Regions from separate parts of the Homo sapiens genome. Here regions 1 and 2 are each linked to region 3. The links are contacts of gene promoters, found by promoter capture Hi-C in blood cells and fetal thymus (Javierre and others, 2016). All regions are on one chromosome and are shown on one strand. Each heading gives the region's core, a stretch centred on a gene start or on the middle of the fragment in contact. The rest is flanking DNA. Distances are from core to core; before and after follow the strand shown.

Region 1 (4,267 bases), core at 997-3,496, 400 kb after region 3:
TGGATGAAACCCTGAGGATCCCAGAGCTGAAAGTGAGTTTGAAGTGTCCGATCCAGTCCTTCAACTCAGAGCACTCCTATCTGTGACACCTCTGCCCACGCATCCAGTATGTGCAGCACACCTGCTCTGTGACTGACACTCTTGCAGAAGTGGGGCCACTTCAGGGACATGGACAAGGTGTTGTACCTGCTGTCACAGAGCCTGTTATCTGGTGAGTGATTGGGACATTCTGAGGGCTCATACCTTCTGGCTGCAGGTTCTTCCCAGGGGCCTCCCAGAGCTTCTTCCATAGCCCCAGGCAGGGCAAGTCTAGATTCAGTCTTGCCTGGAGACATCTGAGGATGGCTGTTCCATCCTCCTCCTCACATGTATGCAGCTCTCCTTTGAGCCCCACCTGTGCCTGTCACTTCAGGTGAAAGCAGTGTAAACATGATTAACAAGGCCAGGCTCGGTGGCTCACGCCTGTAATCCTAGCACTTTGGGAGGCCGAGGCGGGCGGATCACGAGGTCAGGAGATCGAGACCATCCTGGCTAACACGGTGAAACCCTGTCTCTACTAAAAAATACAAAAAATTAGCCGGGCGTGGTGATGGGCGCCTGTAGTCCCAGCTGCTGGGGAGGCTGAGGCAGGAGAATGGTGTGAACCCGGGAGGCGGAGCTTGCAGTGAGCCGAGATCATGCCACTGCACTCCAGCCTGGGCAACAGACTGAGACTGTGTCTCAAAAAAAAAAAAAAAGATTAACAAAAGGCCCCTTGCACACTGTGGAAGGCTTATCAGAGTGGCCACCTAGACAGAGGCATGGTAGCCTGAGTTCAGACCTAGCCTGGACTTTCACCCAGCCAGACTTCAGTTGTGCCTGTACCTTGTGGGATGACACATGCCCGTCTCCAACTCATGCAGGCTCTCAGTGAGAGGTAGTTGGCTCCAGCCAGCTTGCACCTCCCCACTGCTGGTCTTATCCTAGGACCACTGCAGGGAGACGATCTCTCAGTTTGGGGTCTTTGAAGGCTCAGGGAGCTCCTAGCCAGCTGACTAGGCTGGGGTCCATCCTGATAACATGAGAGAGAGAAGATGTCTGTATCTCTGGTGTGTCTTTACTTTTCAGGCCACCAAGGGTTAAGAACCCAGCGTCAGCCAGTGAGTAGTAGACATCTGTTCTCCTTTTGAGAAAGCCTGTAGTTCAGGACTCACCACGGCTTTCCCTTCCTTGGCCTGAAACCCTCCCTGCTCAGCTGCTTGGCGCATGCTGTTCCCCTGCCTGGAACGTCTCGCCTAATTCCTTTTCCTGCCCTGGCCTCAGTCTGGGAGACGCCATCTCAGTCCCCATGTCTTGGAGTTTTAAATGAAAGCACTTTACTTGTTTGCTCCTCTTTGCCCTGTAGGGCAACCCTGGGAATCACATGCTTCATGAGTCTAATTTACAGAAACGTAGGCGTAACTCAGCAGTGCATACCAAGCCCATACTGTTTGCTCTACACTGAAAATGAAGATGAATGGTGAAAAAAAGTTTCTGCCATTGAGAGCTTAACATTGAGTTGCAGTGAGAGATGAAGCTCCTGAGTGGCACGGAGATTGTTGCCAGGGCTCTGGTGAGGTACGCTGTGGCCTGGTGGTTGTGGCCACTCAGGGAGGCTTGTGGCCTATATAGAAGGCGGGCTGTGGGAATGAGCTGGGGGGTTTGGGTTGACTGTTTAGAATTTGAGAGTCTCTAGCATATGGCACAGAAGGTAGATGATTTAAGCTGCGTGGACATCTTCGATAAACACTGGAAGAATGGGCAGTGGTATCCTCTCTCGGCCCACTGAAGCTTCTGTGTCCATCTTGTGTCCTTAGTCCTATGCGTTGGAGTATTGGAGGAGCCAGCTTCCCCCTCTCTCCAGAGCTTCTCACCCTAGGGAGCCTCCTTCCTCCTCGCCTGGATGAGGTACTGTCTTTCTTTGTTAGTTTCTTTCTTTCCTTTTTTCTTTAAGAAACATGGCCTCACTATGTTGCCCAGCCTGGACTCATACACCTGGGCTCAAGTGATGCTCCTGCCTTGGTCTCCTGAGTAGCTGGGACTACAGGCATGTGCCACTGTGCCTGGCTTCACACTTGTGCTTTTGATTCTCATCCTTAGCAGGTGGGGCTGTTGTTTTATCTGGTTTTCTTTTTTAATCCTTGCTTTCTTTGAATACAGGACTGATTCATAGTCACTGTTAAAGAATTCAAGCAATACAGAAATGTTTACTATAGTAAGTGAAAGTTTCTTAATAATCTACTCTTCAGAGATTACTACCACTGATTTTGGTCCAGTTCCTTTCAGTTTTGATTTTAGTGAAGTTACTTTCAGTTTTTTCCCTATATACACCTTTTTTTTTTTTTTAAACCATGTAAATGGTACTATGCTATTCTGCAACTTTTCTCCCACAGTTCTTTCCATTTTTCTTCACATAGCATTGTCTGTGAAGTAGGGATGGGAAAACTGAGGCTCAGCTCAAGCATCACTTGAGCCCAGGTGTTTTGAGTCCAGCCTGGGCAACATAGTGAGACCTTGTTCTTAAAGAAAAAAGTTTGGGTTGACTGTTTAGAATTTGAGAGTCTCTATCTAGCATGTGGCACAGAGGGTAGATAATTTAAGCTGCATGGACATCTTTGATAAACACTGTGGAAGAAGGGGCAGTGGCATCCTCTCTTGGCCCACTGAAGCTTCTGTGTCCATCTTGTGTCCTTGGTCCTGTGGTTGATTGACAGACCTCTCCCCTGGCCCATGGCCAGCCAGCGTGTGTGTGATGGAGCTGAGACCAAGTCTCTGTTCCCTGCTGTGTCTAGTTGTAGGAGCTGACTGCTTGGAACACCTTTCTGTCTCTCAAGTTAAGTTGTATCTCTCGTACTTGGCCTTAATGAAGTTTGACATTGAGAAGTCCAGAGCTGCTGTTTCCGGTGTGGCTTCCTTCCGGAATGAGTCCTAGTCACTGTTACTCAGAGATGTGCGTCAGGAAGTGGCTCGGGCCACAGTTCTGAGCAGATGGAGGTGTCTGTTCTGCATGGGAAAGAAGTATGCTTGTCAGGCAGGCTCTGCCAATGCCAAAACTTGGCCCACCTATTCTCTCCTTACCCCCTCAACAGGTCCTTCTGGGCCACAACAAGGTACCCTGGTTTGACTCTTAGGAAGTGGGAGAGCCACTGAAGGGGGTACAGATCCAGGATGTGGCTTTGGGAGCTTCCTCGGGCTATGCTGCCGGGAGGAGAGTAGACAGGGGTTCTGGGTCCAGAGGCCCATCTGTGCTGTGCATCAATCTGTGTGAAGGGCAGGGCCACAGGGGCGCTCTGGAGGTGGGCACCTGGGCGCAGGCTTGCTGCAGCTGTGTGCCTACAGGGTCCTTGTGTCTTGAGTGTTGGGCGCAGCTCACAGCTAGCGAGGCTAGCACCTGGACCCCGTTGTCATCATCTGACTCAGCACTGGTTGCTTCATGGGCCCTTCTTCCTTCCTGATAGGAAGAGGTGCCCTGAGGTGCCCTGTGCCTCCTGAGGACAGTGGCTGCCCCCAGGTTCAGGGCTCTGCTCCTCAGCATCTCCGTGGGGCTCATCGTGGGCCTCGCACTCAGCACATCCGAACTGTAGCCCAACCTTCCTTCCTCAAATCTGCTCCTCCCCATCTCAGAAAAGCCAGCCCCACTGGTCCAGTTGCTCAGGCAAAAACAAGTGAAAGAAAGCAACCCCCTCCGGAGTGCCCCAACTCCCCTCTGCTCTGTCCCCTTCCCCAGTGTAGCTGCACCATAGGAACCGCTCCCCTGCCCTGCAGTCCTCCAGCCAGGTGATCCTTTAGAGCAAGCCAGATTCCTCCCCTCCGGCCTGGGCCAGTGCTTCCCCCAGCACATGTCTCCGCTCAGGCCCTGTCTCCTTCAGGGCTGGCTTCCGGTGCCGCCCGTTCCACCCAGCCCCCGTCCCTCTGTGTGCTCTGACTGCCCCGTGCTCTGCCTCGTGTCCCCACAGCACCGTCACCAACACCCTCTGTCATTTCGCTCGTTTTCCAGCATGGGGGTGGATGGTGTTCCCTCTGTCTTGTTCACCACTGAGTCCCCAGCCCACAGTGGAGGCTCGGTGAGCTGCTGTCGGGTGAGGAGGCAGAAAGACGCCTAAAATCCACCGTTAAGAGCATCAGCCCTGCTGCTCCCGCCAGTGCTTTAACCCACTTACTGCGAAGCCTCACTTTCTTCCTGTCTGAAATAAGGGTGTTACTATGGGTATGTTAGTGATGGGTGCCACAGATGGCATTTTATGGTAGA
Region 2 (4,492 bases), core at 1,064-3,563, 290 kb after region 3:
AAGCTGCCTGGAGCAGGGCAAGGAGGGTTGAGCAGCTGGTTCACTGCTGCTCCTGGCCCATGTTTTAGGTGTTGTGGGGGCATCTTACAGAGCTCTTTTGGGAATCCCCCTCTGCTCCCTGTGTCCCTGGGCCCTTGTCGGGTGACAAGCGGCGCCCAAGAACTCTCAGACCAAGGTCCTGGCCTTAAGTGACTCCAGATCTCGGGGAGACACAGCCAGACACAGCCAAGCCAGTCCTGTGAGGTCAGGCTGGGGACATCCAGAAAGGTGGCAGCCTTGGGGGCCGGGATAGTGTTGGTGCAGGCAGGGCAAGGTTGGCTAGGCAGGGGCTGCCACAGAGATGGGCACCACAGCAGTCAGAGCACAAGTGCCGGAGCAGACGGCTGAATGGCCACAATGGGCTCAGGTGAGGGTCCAGGGGCCCAGAAGAGCTTGGGATGCCCTGTCCTGAGCCTGTTAGGCTAGAGTGTCCACAAGAGCGGGACACCCCCCAGGATCACTCAAGTCTTCAAAACCAGATTCTGTGGGGTACCCCAAGCTGGCATTGGGGGAACCTACCCAGGAGCGCTGAAGGAGGACTCTCCTTCCCCAGGCTGCTTTCAGACAGAGGTCCTTGGCTTTCTACAGGGAGCCCAGCCAGGCTCACAATAAGCCAGGCCTAGCGGAAGAGAGCAGTTTTTCTTGCTCTGAGGTTTCAAAAGGGCTTGGTGAATTTTAAAAAGCTCCAAGACCCACCTGGAGCTCACTTTCAAGGTGCAGCTACAGGGCAGTGTAGAGTTGTTGGGCTTTGTGTCTCAGGAGGAGCATCTCTGCACTCTGGAGAAGTATCTGGTGGCGTCAAAGCCAGGTCTCAGGAGTTGGTTTTGGGGATGTGTCCATCTTGGCTTCCCAAGTGCTCCCTGGGCTGCCAGGAGCCATCATCTAGGGAATTTTCCAGGTCTTACCTGAACCCCACATCCAGGCTTACAGGGCTTTGAGTCCTCGGTCCAGACAGGGTCAGTCCAGCACTGCTGGTCGCCTGTGTAGCACAGGCTCCTGTCTGCCGTCTCCAGGCCCTTGCCATAGCAACAGGGATGGGCATTTATGGGCCCTGATGGCTCTTACTGAGCTCTTCCTGCCACATCCTGAGGATGCTAGGGCTGCAACTGGGGTGGCCCTGTGCAGTCACAAAGCAGGGAGTCCGGATTGGAGGATTCTTACATGCTGGTGCCCCCAGAGCCCCTGCGTGTCTGCGGGGGCCTCCCATGAGAGCCAACTCAATTGTGGAAGACAAACCGGAGGGGCTGCTGCCCTTCTCAGAACCTGAAACCTGGAACCCTATATGAATCTGCATTTCTGATCAGCCCCCATTGTGGGTCTAGGGCTAACGGCCATCAGTGCTTTTTCTCTGCTTGAACAGGTAGAAGCCCCCAAAGTTGTCCATTGGCCATGCCCCTGTGAGGGCATGAGCCAGAAGTGAGGGCAGTTTGTTTTTCAGTGATACTTCAGAGAGGGCCATTTGAGATGGGCTCTGAGGTAAGCATAGGAGTTCACCAGACGCAGAAGGAGGTCACAACCTGGGCTGGGTTCAGTAGGTGGGTTCCAGATTATCCCCACCCCAACCTGGGCTGGGTTCGGCAAGTGGGGTCCAGGCTCCTCACTCCCCCTTGCTGCTCTTGGTTGACAGGAGAGTAACAACATGGTGGTGCCTGCCATGCAGCTCGCCAGCAAGATCCCGGACATGTCGGTACAGCTGTGGTCGTCAGCACTGCTGAGAGGTGAGTGCAATGGCCACCCCTCTTCCCCAGCCCCAGCCTGGCCCTCCCCAGAGATCAAGGCTGCTGGGCATGTCCTGCTCAGCCTTAGCTCGGACTAGGCCTCCGTGGGCCGCAGCCCCAGTTCTAGCATGGGTAGGGGGTGCTCCTCAGGAGACCCTGGTTGAGGGCAGTGGGTGCATTTGTGGCATCCGCTTGACTCGGGGTCTGGTTCAGTCTCTATAGGACACAGAGGCTGCGACTTGGTATCTGGTAGACTTGGGCTGTTAGCCGTGGCGCTCTCAGCCTTGCTTCTTCCCGGAAAGGCAGACAGCAGCCATACCTATTGGGTAGGGCTGGCCAGCTAGCTCTGGGAGCAGGGCGGGCACTCAGCGGGTATCATTGCTGTTACCGCAGCTCCCCCATTTCCAGATTACGAAACTAAGGTCCGGAGACTCGCCTGGGGCCCTGGGGAGGTGACAGGAGACGGGGTGCTCCATGTGCAGTGGGCTGCCTGGGGCTGCTGCCTCAGGATGGGCATTGGGCGTCCTGCCCCAATGAGCGCCTGTTTGCCTGAGGGCTGGCCATGGGCTCCCTGGAGGGCTGGCGAGAAGCCTGGCATTGGGCTTTCACTGCCCAGCCAGCCCTGTTCTGCCCTATGAGGGCGGCTGGCGCATGGGCTTTGTGATCCCAAGACAGGGCTCAGGTCCAGTGACGTGCCAGGCACCCAGAGATCCACCAGTGCAGCTGGGACTTGACCTTAGGGCTCCATCTGCACCGAGTGGGAGGGCCTGGGCAGTGACAGGGCAAGGCGGGCCCCCATGCTCATGTCCCACTCTCAGACCTGAATAAAGCCTGTGGGAACGCCATGGATGCCCATGAAGCCGCCCAGATGCACCAGAACTTCTCGCAGCAGCTGCTCCAGGACCACATTGAGGCCTGCAGCCTCCCCGAACACAACCTCATCACGGTACGGGTGTGGGTGTTAGGGGACGGGATCAGGACTAGCGGGCTCCCCACCTGCAAGAGGAAGGGGCACCTTGGCTGTATTTCTCTTTTGTCCAACAAACCCTAACTCAGCCTCAGGTGATCCCTTGATGGGGGAGATGGCCATGGGCACCCCCACCCAAGCAAGGGACCCAGGTGTCTCCTCGGGGCCCATTGGACTGGGGCATGGAGAACAGAGTCCCGGCTGTGTGAGCAGCCCAAGGAAGGCAGCATTCCAACCTCTTCTTCCCTGGGAACGGTCCACAGTGCCTCACTCGCATGTCCTCTCCTCCCCACAGTGGACAGACGGTCCACCCCCCGTGCAGTTCCAAGCTCAGAATGGACCCAACACCAGCCTGGCCAGCCTCCTGTGAGGCCTTGATGGGGCCATCCAGCTCCGCAGGGCCTGCGCGTCTCCGGCTTCCACCCAGACGGCACTCAAGCCTGCCCCCGAGGCGTGCTTCCTTCCTGATTGTCTCTAGAGCTTCCAAGTCCTGGGAATGTGCGGGGCCAGTCCCTGCCCTCCCAGGAGGGGTGGTAGCCGTTCCCACCTCGCAGCAGGACCCCCAGTGCAGAGGCTCACAGGTGGCACACAGGCGCTGTCTCTCCAGAGCCATCCTTCAGAGTGGACCTCAGTGCCAGTCCTGCCTCAGCATCTGGGTCACGTCGGCCAGGAGTAGGGTGCAGGCCTCCAGCAGGTCCTAATCCTGTGTGCCAGGGCAGGCAGTGCCCCAGGGGCACCACGCCTGACTCTCCATCACCCAGGCCTTGATGCCGAGCGGGAGTAGAGTGTTTCCTCTGCTCAAGGCAATTTCCAGAGCCCGGATGCCAGTTTCTGGCCTGAATTTGGAGGGAAGAAGTAATGGCGCTAGTGTGGGACGAAGCACAGATCCCAGCACTTTTCCCAGCTTTCTCTCCAGCATCAGTCCCTGCAGCAGCTGGGGCCTCTGGTCAGGAACCCTCAGGGACCCAGGAACTCAGCTTCCAAACATCTGCACCTTGACCGGACTCGCCATCCCGCCGTGGGGGTGCAGGTGATTGTAAACACGGGTGTGCATGTGGATGCACACGGGTGTGCGGTGAAGATCTGTGGAGATGGAGCTGGGAGCTGAGGCTCCTGTTGCACCAGCCACCTTCCCCCATCTTGTGGCTGCTGAGGGGCAGGAAGCGGGGGAGTGGGCTCGTCTCCTAAATTTAAGATCACCTCCTCAGCTAGCTTAGAGTGCGTGGCACGGGCCCCCCGCCCCCGAGATCTGGAGCCCAGGGACTTTCTTCCTGGCAGATCTGTGGCCTTCCCTGCTCAGCCTCTTGGTCCCCCCACTCCCTCCACCGCCTCACCTTCCCTGCTGGGTCTCTGGGGCACAGTGTGAAACCCGCACCCTAGCCAGGCCCCAGGGAGCCTCCGCTGGGCCCAGACAGCAGCGTTTGGTTTTATCCACTTTTCTTGGATAATCAGGAGGTGCCCCAGTGGTCACAGTGTGGCATTCCGAGTTGGGGCGGGTGGTCGGGTCAAGATAGCAGCAGCAGGTGTCAGGGCTCAAGACACCACCCCCTCCAGCTTCTGGGGCCCAGGAGCCTCTCCCTGCTACAGGGGGTGGGGGTCCTGCTCAGCAGGGTAGGTGGTGGTTTTAGGTCTTGTCACCCTCACTCAGTGGAACTGCCTCTGGGAGCTTTGGCGTCTGTGACTAAAGGGACGCTGGATTGCTCAGGTCAGCTGCTTGGGGCTCCCAGGCTGGGTGTGCCTTAGCCACAGGCAGGGCTGTCAATAACCC
Region 3 (3,982 bases), core at 1,480-3,979:
GATGAGACCACAGCTTGGCCTGCCTCCAGGCCCCTCATCTTTTTCCAAAGCTGTTAACCTGACCTTGGGCAAAAGGCCTTTGGGCCTCAGGTGATTAGGCCTGGACGCTGTGCCAGGGCCTGGCTCACAGATGATTCCTGGGATCCCCAAGAGGTAGAGGAGACTGGAGGGCGAAGAGGCAGTGTCCTGTCCAGGGCTGGCCAGCCAAAGCAGAAGAGCCGAGATCCTGGGCACCCTAGCTGGGCTTACATGAGTGCCCATGGTGGGGGTGTCCATTGCTATTGCCAAGGTGCTTTGCCTGCCATTGCTGGAAGGCGGTAGGGAGGTTGGCTGGCGCCAGCCTGCTAAAGAACGAGCAGAAGCTAGAGAGGCAGCCCCAGGCTGGGCCAGAGCCTGACCTTTGCCTTAGTTGGCTCTGTCCCTGGAGGCACTGTGGGACCTTCCAGGAGCTTTGTTACCTCCCCCTCCCAGGGCCTGGCAGGTGGGCACTGGGAGTGGGCGCTCCTCGGCGTAGATATCTCCCTCTTGGTGTGGCAAGCCACGCCCATAGTTGGTCTGTGTCCATGAAGCGCTATTTACAGAGAGGGAAACAGGCCCAGAGAAGAACAATATATCATCACCAGCCTTCCATGAGTGCTTACTGTGGACGAAGCCATTGTAAGTGTTTTGCTTCCATTTCATCAATGCTCACATCAGCCCTAGGAGACAGCCGGGAAACTGAAGTGGGGAGCTTGTGTTATTTGCTGAAGGTCCTGTGGCTGTTACTGGCCATTACTTACGTTAAAAAGAGCAGGGATTCAAACTCAGCCCTGGGTCCTTCCACCAAGGAATATTCTCCACCATAGGCTCAGTTTTCTTATCTGCTAAGTGGGCACTGTCACGTCCACCTGGAAGTGAGGTGGGGAGATGGTATTGGAGAAAGCCCAGTGGGGACCTGGCACCCAATTGATGTTCAACTGACCTCAGCTTCCCCCTCTTCTCTGGAGGGCAGAATGGAGGCCAGATCCTGGAAGTTGCCAGGAAGCAAACCACAGGTGGGAGGTATGGGAGAGGAGGTCCAGGTAGGCATATCGTGAGAATATCAGGAGTTTGATGATGGCCTTGGGCTAGTGATTTCCCGTCACATCCTCCCCATTTGAAACTTGTGGATCACACACTTAGCAGGGGCTTGTGCAGCCCTGAAATGTGAGCCCTTTCTAAGGTTGGTTTCAGCCTTGCTCCCTCCCAGGATTCCCTGGTTCTGAACTTGATCTCCACCAACCCTGGCCAGCACCTAGAGGAAATAAGAGCTGGTATCTGGAAACATTTGTAGCCCTCTCCATCCTGAAGATGAAGGGTGAGTCATAGAACAGAGTGGCTTCGGGGGAGGTGCCGATGACACAGCCATGCCTGGGATGGCAGGTGTCTCCCTAAACTGCCGGCATTTTTCTGCACTTCACAGAGGAGCTGAGGCTCACAGGCCGCACATGACCTGCTCAGGGTCAAATGCTTTCACCAGATAATTAAAATGAGAGCTGAGTTGTAAATTTTCCCAGGGAAGCAACCCCAGAGAGGAAAGATCAAGGCATAGGAATCATTTTCCCCCCTCTTTTCCAAATGAAACAGCTGAGGCTCACAAGGGCTTTTGCCCAAGGTTGTGTGGTGGGCCAGTGATTGGACAAGGATTCAAACCCAGGTCTCTGAGGCCCCCAGTGGCTCTTCTCTGACACACTCTTTCCAAAAAGCAGGCTGCTCTAGATTCATTCTCTGGTTTAGCAACCAGAGAATGCTGTGTAACCTTGGGCAAGGAGCTTGACCTCTCTGTGCTCTGGTTTCTGTAAAAGGAGCCAGTGGTCTCTCTGACCTCATGGGATTGTGGTTAAGATTCAGTTAATTCAAAAAAAGACTTGGCAGGGAGAAGGCCCAACAGGGATGTCACTGGATACCGTGGCGGGGAAAGCTGGGACGCAGAGAGGTCAGACACTCAGAAAACCACGCAGCGCGTTTCAGTAGGATTCCGCCCCTTATTTCCATGTCTTCACACCACCTCGAGATGGAGAGGGCAGTTCAGAGTGACCTCCAGCGAATCTGCCCTCTCCGTGTCGTCTGCAGGGGATTAGTGGGGAGTAAGGGGATAGAGAATTATCCAGGAGTCCTTCAGCCTTGATGGTCCAAGTTCACATCCGCTTCTGTGCTAGGTGGCCAGAGGGCGGGCTCTACACGAGAGCCTCAGGGGACCCTGCGCCAGGCGTCCGAGGCCACGTCGGGTTGCCGCGCTCCGGGTCGGACTGCACCTTGAACGCTCCAGCCCTCCCCTGGGGGCGTACCGCCCACGGCCGCTGCGACTGGCCGCGGGGCCTGCCAGTCTTCGGCTTTGCGGCCAATCCCGGTCTCCCCCCAAGCTACGCCCTCCGTTCCTCTCGCCTCTGCCCCACCGGTAGCGCCAGTTTCTTCGTAGCCCCGCCCCTGGCCCCCAGCGATTGGCCGACAGTTCTGCCTGTTTTCTGCCAAGATTCCAATCCTCGCCTGCCTCCAGGCCCTCGCCTCCCAGCGCCTAGCACCCTGAGGGACCACTCAGGCACCCCAGGCCTCTCCCAATAGCCCCACCTCTGCCAATCAGCGATTGGCTTTAGGGGCTGCCCATCTGCTTCATACTCGCCAATCACTGTCGCTTCCAGCGCTGACTGGCCAGGGAGCAGCCAATCGGGGCGTGGCGTGGACCCCTCCCGTGGCGCGCTCTGGGGGTGCGCGAGGCGGGGCCGTGGCGGCTGGAGGTAGCGGCGGCGGCGACGCGTCCGGGCCGGTGAGGGGGCGCGGGGGGCGCCGGGGGGGCCCAAGCGTCAGCGGCCCGCGCCTGTCGGGCTGAACTGAGGTGAGGCACGGGTCCTGTCATGGATCCCGGGGCGAGGGGCGGATGAGGCGGGGCATGACAGTAGCGTCGCGAGGGCAGGAAGAGGTTAAAGACCCCCCCCAACCCCACACTCCACGTCTACTGCCCCCTGGGGGCTACTGCATCCAGGTTTGAGCCCGTCACCCGCAGTCCACGCACGCCTGACACCACGTCCCTTTTCGTTGACATCCCCCATACACTTTAGACTGTCCTTGCTGACATCTCCCACACCCCTGGGGCCTTGTCCCCGGCGCCCCGCACAGCTGGGTCTGACATCCCCCTCACACACCTGACACCGCGCCCCCACTCACGAACACCCGCCCCCACTCACGAACACCCCCCACATCACCTGAGTCTGTCCTTGTCGATGACACCCCCACACCCACACCTGAGCCTGTGACTCCTAACTCATGGCCTCGCAACTCACACCTGGACCTAGTCCCGTCCCCCACTGCCTTTCCTCATATCCAGGTATCTGCTCGCTACTCTCGTGCCCACTCCCCCAGCAACCTGTGTCTCTCTTCTCAGGGACCTTCCCCCTGGCACCTGCCCTCTGCCCTGGCAGCCCCACACCTCTGTCTCCCCCTTTTCTCTCTCCCACCTTGGGCTTTCTTCCACGTGCACCTGTGTTCGCACACCCTCTGTAATAATCCCCCCGAATCCCCCAGGTCCTCCAATAGTCCCCCAAGCCTTGGTATCTCAGGATCGCTGCACCCTCCCCTCCCCAAACAAAAGCTTACCCCAGTGTTCATTTCTAACAGTGCTTGACAGTCTATAAAGTGATTTCCGGACCTTAGAATAATCCCATCTGTCAGACCAAACCGGAATCATCTCCATTTTACCAGCCACAGACCTAAACCACTTGAATGCTAGAGGCAGAGCCTATTCTACCCTGGGCATCGCTGACCCTCTGCTGTGGACCCACCGCGTTTGGGCCCATCTGTTATGTTTATCTCAGAGGGATTGGCAGGAGTCGTGACTTTGACTGGGTCCGGAAAGGCTTAGCTGGAAGGGACGGCCCCTCTGCCAAGCGTGTGTCTCGGAGTCCTGGGGCAGGCTGGCGGTGGAGACGCTGCCGGAGGAGGGGGGCTCATCATCTTGGGTGCCTCCTGC

Evidence for each region. Contacts are between HindIII fragments. The CHiCAGO score rates a contact against its expected background, and 5 or more counts as called.
Region 1: a contact is called between a fragment that was not itself captured here and the fragment with the promoter of SLC25A42 in region 3, in 1 of 17 cell types (fetal thymus). The highest score is 6.3, in fetal thymus.
Region 2: a fragment that was not itself captured here is called in contact with the fragment with the promoter of SLC25A42 in region 3 in 1 of 17 cell types (erythroblasts); the score reaches 6.9 in erythroblasts.

What each region holds. Positions count from the first base shown.
Region 1 is chr19:19,457,019-19,461,285 of GRCh38, forward strand. The region is part of intron 1 of GATAD2A (GATA zinc finger domain containing 2A); the gene reads left to right. Among named protein-coding and RNA genes, the nearest start is that of MIR640, 24 kb to the left of the region's middle. RefSeq lists enhancers at 2,822-3,116, 3,013-3,232, 3,543-3,662, 3,993-4,132. The HindIII fragment of the contact is 878 bases long and covers 1,808-2,685 here.
Region 2 is chr19:19,352,689-19,357,180 of GRCh38, forward strand. It overlaps MAU2 (MAU2 sister chromatid cohesion factor), which reads left to right. Exons shown (of 19, transcript NM_015329.4): 17 at 1,667-1,757; 18 at 2,576-2,703; 19 at 3,020-4,492. The coding sequence ends at 3,094. Among named protein-coding and RNA genes, the nearest start is that of MAU2, 34 kb to the left of the region's middle. The HindIII fragment of the contact is 5,642 bases long and covers 1-4,492 here.
Region 3 is chr19:19,061,265-19,065,246 of GRCh38, forward strand. SLC25A42 (solute carrier family 25 member 42) reads left to right here and starts at 2,730. Exons shown (of 8, transcript NM_178526.5): 1 at 2,730-2,851. LOC124904655 (a long non-coding RNA gene) reads right to left here and starts at 2,261. Exons shown (of 3, transcript XR_007067160.1): 1 at 1,926-2,261; 2 at 780-887. RefSeq lists silencers at 2,202-2,371, 2,632-2,901. The HindIII fragment of the contact is 7,903 bases long and covers 1-3,602 here.